Linked DNA regions of Homo sapiens: region 2 is linked to region 1. The links are contacts of gene promoters, found by promoter capture Hi-C in human tissues and cell types (Jung and others, 2019). All regions are on one chromosome and are shown on one strand. The core of a region is centred on a gene start or on the middle of the fragment in contact, and the rest is flanking DNA. Distances in the headings are between cores, read along the strand shown. Region 1 holds the start of TRAF1 (TNF receptor associated factor 1). Region 2 overlaps C5 (complement C5).

Evidence for each region. The method cuts DNA at HindIII sites, captures the fragments that hold promoters and counts their contacts. A contact is called where the count stands out against the background at its distance.
Region 2: a fragment that was not itself captured here is called in contact with the fragment with the promoter of TRAF1 in region 1 in 2 of the 25 tissues and cell types used here (aorta and dorsolateral prefrontal cortex).

The regions. Positions count from the first base shown.
Region 1 is chr9:120,925,082-120,928,223 of GRCh38, reverse strand. It overlaps TRAF1 (TNF receptor associated factor 1), which reads left to right and starts at 1,428. Exons shown (of 8, transcript NM_005658.5): 1 at 1,428-1,674; 2 at 1,923-2,288. The coding sequence starts at 2,149. RefSeq lists enhancers at 1,150-1,469, 1,810-2,149, 2,610-2,679, 2,276-2,799. The HindIII fragment of the contact is 9,494 bases long and covers 1-3,142 here.
Region 2 is chr9:121,022,975-121,026,116 of GRCh38, reverse strand. C5 (complement C5) reads left to right here. Exons shown (of 41, transcript NM_001735.3): 9 at 537-663; 10 at 2,598-2,713. Among named protein-coding and RNA genes, the nearest start is that of C5, 26 kb to the left of the region's middle. The HindIII fragment of the contact is 5,266 bases long and covers 1-3,142 here.

The DNA of each region.
Region 1 (3,142 bases), core at 179-2,678:
GGGTTCAGGGGTCCCCACTCACTAGCTGTGAGACCTTGAACAAGTCGCTTAGCCTCTCTGTGCCTCAGTTTTCTCATCTGTAAGGTGGGGATGATGATGGCAATACCTGCTTCACAGAGTGAAAATTAGATGAGATGATGTCTGTAAAATTACGTAAGACGGTACCCAAAAGTAGTACTATTTTTCCCTTTTCTTATTAGAGCAGGTTGCGCACGTTTTGATGTCCGTGGGAATGAGCAGGTAGAGAGGGTGGTATTGAGGCCGGAGGGGAGAGAAGGGACCCACAGATGGGGAGAGAAGTCTTGGGTGCCTGTTTTATCCCAAACCAGGGGAAGGAGGGAACAGGTAGGGCTGGCTGCAGGAAAGCTTGCAGGTATGGGGTACACAGTTAAAAGGGAGTGTCTTCTGATAGTCTTGATGCAGGCCTGGAGGTCGTTTGTTATGGGGGTGGAGGTCCTGATGTACATTGTGGCGGTAAGATGCCGTGCTGTCTTTGCCACCAGCCTGTGGCAGCCCTGGTGTTACACCAGGGCAGGTGGGCAGTTTAATGTATCTCAGGCCAGATGACCTGCCCTGCCCACCTGTTGAGGCTCCAGTAGATAGACGTGAAAGCACAGTATAAGCATAATGCACCACTTTAATCCTTTTCTCTGAGGAGCTGGAAGGCCTGTAGTCACCATCTGAGCCAAATGTCATTCAAGTACTTCACTTGGGTTACACACCACACTTTGACCCACTATCTCATTTAGTCATCACAACAAATGGGTGAAATAGGTATTATTGTCCCATTTTACAGATGCAGAATCTGAGTTTCAGGGAAGTTAAGGACTTTGTCCCAGGGCCCACAGTTAGTAAGCAGTGGACCCAGGATTTCAACTCAGCTCTGTCTGACCTCAAAACCCATGATCTGAAACCACTGTGAAAGTTTGCAAAACCTCTGTAGCAGCCAAGCAGGATGGAAAGATGTGTAGGGATTGTCTTCTCCATTTGATAGATGAGACAAGAGCTGGGTACTCTGATCTCCATCCCAAGCACACAGAGCTTGGGGCCCCACAGCCCTGGTGTGAATCCCACTCCACTACCAGAGGCTGTGTGCCTTTGGACCAGGCATCTTGCTTCTCTGACCCTATATACAGCTGCAGAAGAATTCCTTGCAGGTTGCTGTAAGGATTTGGAGGGAAACTGTTGCCCAGCACACAGTACACATTCTGGGAGCCATCGTTTCCCCAGTGCACTTTTCCTGCAAATGTGGATCTACATCCCACTTGGATGCTGAGACCAGCTGCTGTGATCTTGCATTTGTTTAGCGCTTTGTTCTCCTTGAGGCAGTAAAGTGGTGGCACCTGACCGGAGCATGTAGCCACCTATGACTTCCTGAGTGGGGTGGTGTGGGGAGGGCCCTGAGGAGTCTGTGGTCCTAGGCCTTGGATTTCATCAGGGCTTTCCTGCTCCTTCTGGTTGCCTCAGTCCCAGGCAAGATAGGGTCCCAGAATCTTACAGCCCAGAGGCCACCTGTTGCAACTTCTTTTTTACAGATGGAGTCATCAGAACCCACTGTGAGGAAGTGACTTCTCCTTGAGGTCACCCAGACACTCCAAACAGAGCAGAGCAAAAGCGCCTAGAACTTGAAATTTTGGACCTGTCTCCAACACCCTGGGGATTTCCACCAGGAAGGTGAGCACCCCCACTGAGAATTCCAGGCTGCTCAGAGGTGCCAGGGAACACAGACCAGGGACCAGCTGTGGCCCCCTCCTCCGATGTGCCCAGGGAAGTGGGGGAAGCCAGCGGCAGCCTGCGATTCTCAACCAGGGGAACTCTCACTGTGCTTTCTGAGAGTCTGTGACACGGGTCATTTTCTCTGACTTGCTCTCTTGCTTTTTCTCACTCTAAAAAAAAAAAAAAATGACTGGACACTCCTAAAGCCTTCAGTCACCATCCAGGGGATTTTTATCGCCACAAAGGGTAATTCCTGCTCCATCCCTGCTGTGACTCAGCTGTGACGTTGAACCACACAAGCCAGAGAGAAGAAGATAAAGTCATCAGAGCTCCTACTCACCAGAGAGTGAGGCCCAGGCCAGGACTCCACAAGGCTGGTCCCCTGCCCTGGAGCAACTTAAACAGGCCCTCTGGCCAGCCTGGAACCCTGAGATGGCCTCCAGCTCAGGCAGCAGTCCTCGCCCGGCCCCTGATGAGAATGAGTTTCCCTTTGGGTGCCCTCCCACCGTCTGCCAGGACCCAAAGGAGCCCAGGGCTCTCTGCTGTGCAGGCTGTCTCTCTGAGAACCCGAGGTGAGGTGATGGAGGAGCGGAGGGTGGGCAGAAAGTGGGTGCCAGGGAGGGACCCCTGATGGGAGGTGAGGGGCAGAGGAGCCTGTGACTTCAGGCGGTGACTTTTCTTCTCTGGGCCTCAGTTTCCACACCCTTTTCTCACACTCCCTGACACTGCCCCTCTGGCTGTGGTGGAAGGAGAGGAAGCCACAGAAAGGCATCAGCTCCCACAGGGGAAAGCCATCCACACCGAGGAGAGCCTCGAGGCTGTGAGGCCACTGTCTCACTGTGTGGTCTGGTGCTCTGCTAATGTCCCTAAGCCGCAGCTCGCTTGTCTGTAAAGCTGTTTTCTGTGTCATAGAATTGTTAATGAAGCCCAATGAATAATAATCACAAAAGTCCTTATAATAACAAATATAAACCTCTTGGTGAATGACAAACTGTTAGACGAATATCTCTCCTTCCACAGCATTGCTCATCACCTCAGACCGTTTGCTGGGAACCCTTTTGGAGGGGACAAAGAGATCGATATATATTTGTGTATTTAATGATACTTAAAATATTAACAACCCAGAAAGGCATGATATCAGTACTATTGTGGACATCCCTCTTTAAGCAATTATGCACCTACTGTGTGCCAAATGCTCTGCCCTTGGGTCCTCAGCACAACTTAGAGGGGTGGATACTATTATGATCCTATTTTACAAATGAGAACACTGAGGCCTAACAGATTAGGTCAGCTTTGGTCAGTTTCCTGGCAAATATGCCCTTAAACTATCTCATGTGATGACCTTTTGTTTGCGGTTTTACAGCTTAAGAAGGTGGCAAAGCTGAATCAGGCAAGTGAGAAGTTCAAACATGACGACAAAGGAGGA
Region 2 (3,142 bases), core at 424-2,923, 98 kb before region 1:
AAAGCTAAATAAGACAAAAATGCCTGCCCTCAAGTCGCTCAATTTTATAAGAAAAAATAAGGCAAAGTTTATTTTACTGTTGTGTTAATAATTAAATAATATAATATGACTTAACCCCACATCCCTTTACTCATTGTGTGTTTTAAAATTAGTATTTAAATTTGTAAGCAGTGAAGTACAAATTAAATATTATAAAAACCAACAAACTCTCAGTTAAGGGCGGAAGTACGCTGAGAGGCCTATAAAGATGAATGATGACGCAGGAATTGGAAGAAGTCGTGTTTGTCAGCTATTACCAAAAAGACCTGTTGGACCATGTGATGTTCAAGACCCTTCTACTTCTATAATTCTATACAAATAATTAGAAAATAACATCCTGGGCTTAATCGTGGACTCGGTTATCTACTTTACTTTTGACACTAAACCATTCTTCTGACATTTACCTTCAATTTAGAGGTTAGTAAAAGCAGATTTTATTAATTTTTCCTTATAAGTTCTTCTCCGAAATAACTCCTCCTTTTTCTCCTTTTAAAAAGTTGATAAATGGAATTGCTCAAGTCACATTTGATTCTGAAACAGCAGTCAAAGAACTGTCATACTACAGTTTAGAAGATTTAAACAACAAGTACCTTTATATTGCTGTAACAGTCATAGAGTCTACAGGTAAGTGTGTGTGTGTGTGTGTGTGTGTGTGTGTATACTTTCTTTTGAAAAATATTTAGACAGAATATTAAAGATATAAATAATTTCCAATTTCTATAATTATTTCACATTGTATTTTCTTTCATAGTTAAATATAATTATAAGAAGTAGACTTTTATATAGTTATAAAAAGGCAGTAGGGCTCTGCTTCTTTTTAGTCATTGGACAAGCCATTGGGTCCCTATTACCTCCACTTCTACTGCAAAAATGGGAAAACAGTACCCAATTCATGTCCAAAGTAGTTCTGCAGGCTCTCTGCCTTGACCATTTGGCACCCTAGTGTCCTCACGTGGTGAAAATCAAAACCAAAATAAGATTATGTGTGTAAAACTATTTGATAAAGTACTATACAAATAAAAGTTATTACTATTATCATTATTATAGTCTACATAATGATGGAGTCAAACTGAATGTTTCCTAAAGCCTAAAGTTTTCAACATTATTTTAATGTTTCTTCTTTTTATTTTTTCCTCAACTTATTTTAAATAAGTTCAGTTTAAGCAGTATCTATGAGATATTTAAAGTATTGCCAAACAGACAGGCTTGCAAACATTAATGATGTATGATGCCAGCACTAAAGTGGCTTACAAATTAGCATCAGGTATAAGACAGGTGAAGAAAGAACTGTTGCAAGAAAGAATTCCATATGAGCTCTAAGCAAAATATTAATGCAATAGGATTCAGAGGAAGGTGAGCTTCTAGATGATTGTTGAGCAAGCAAGAACAGTGTTGTGAAGATGATCAGTCTTGAAAAATAATTAGGGTTTTGAGGCAGAGTTGCTAGACAGGGTGAAATAGAAACCCTCCAGAGAGAGGGCAGATGAAGAAGAGTAGATGGTGAAGCTTAATCTTTGAGGACAGCAGATCATCCAGTTTGGCTAAAATATAGGATATGTATAGAATGTATTAGAGATGTAATATTGGAAAGGAGTTTGGGAATATTAAAGCTTCAAATGTTATTCTTAATAGTTTAACTTAATCTTTACCTGGAGGATAACATTATTGGGCTCTTGCCAGTTGTCTGGTCATGTCCCCTTCCCTCCCCCTCCCCCCTCCCGCTCCCCTCCCTCCCCTCCCCCTCCCCTCCCCCTCCCCTCCCCCTCCCCCCTCCCGCTCCCCTCCCCTCCCCCTCCCCTCCCCCTCCCCCCTCCCACTCCCCCCTCCCCCTCCCCCCTCCCCTCCCCTCCCTCCCTCCCCTCCCGAGTCTTGCTCTGTTGCCCAGACTGGAGTGCAGTGGTACAGTCTCAGCTCAATGCAACCTCCGCCTCCTGGGTTCAAGCAATTCTCCTGCCTCAGCCTCCCGAGTAGCTGAGATTACAGGCATATACCACCATGCCTGGCACTTTTTTTGTTTTCGTTTTTTAGTTTTAGTAGGGATGAGGTTTCACCATGTTGGCCCGGCTGGTCTCGAACTCCCTTTCAGGGTTCTTTCTATATCAAGCTCCCTTTTTCTGATTTCTCTCTATGTATCTATGCTCTGTGAACACCAACCCCCATCCCCCACCTCCACTTCTGTAAGGCTCAGTTTCTGGCCTGACCCTTCCCTCTCTCCTCAATCCCTTGAATACAGTCAACTGAAACTCAGGCCACTGATGAAAAGTGGTGTCCCTTCCTGGCATCCTTCCTCAGTCCAGTCCTGTAGCTCTACTTCTCCAAGGGCTTCTCTACATACGAGCTTGTGCATAAGGCCTTGGAAACTCCTGAGGTCTAAACTCTTCTCTGCTGTGCCCCTCTGAAGCAAGACCTATGTCCTACTTACTACTGGTAAATGAATGAATGCAAGAATGGAGTGAGTGAATGAATAAGTCTGTGGAGACATATAGAGATGAAATGGATATCCATACAGATCATGATACTCCTAAAAACTGTCAACATGATGCTTGCCATTTCCTTAGGTGGATTTTCTGAAGAGGCAGAAATACCTGGCATCAAATATGTCCTCTCTCCCTACAAACTGAATTTGGTTGCTACTCCTCTTTTCCTGAAGCCTGGGATTCCATATCCCATCAAGGTAGATTGGGTGAGGGGGTAGACGTTGCTACATATGATCATCTTGTTCTGTTCATGGAAAACATGTGGGTGGCAAACAGGGTAAGAATGTTGCCATGAAGTCACAGAGGGAGCTTATTCTGTGAAACCTGCCCCTCCTGGTGGACACAGACAGGGATGGGAAATTGAAGGTCAGCTGCAGCCTTGGCAATGACTTCAAAAGTGAGGGCAAGATAGCCTTGTATTAGGCATCCCTAAATAAGCATTAAATTACATGTAATAAATAAGCATTAAATTATATGTAAATAAAATCTCATAAGACTCTAGTTCAAAAATACAAACATTTAAAATTATTTGGTGGCAAATTCTTAAAAAGCCTTAAGATGGAGATATCATTCCTTGAAAATAGACTCCTTTCTCTCACTATGTTTTTGCCTCCAGTGTGTCTCAT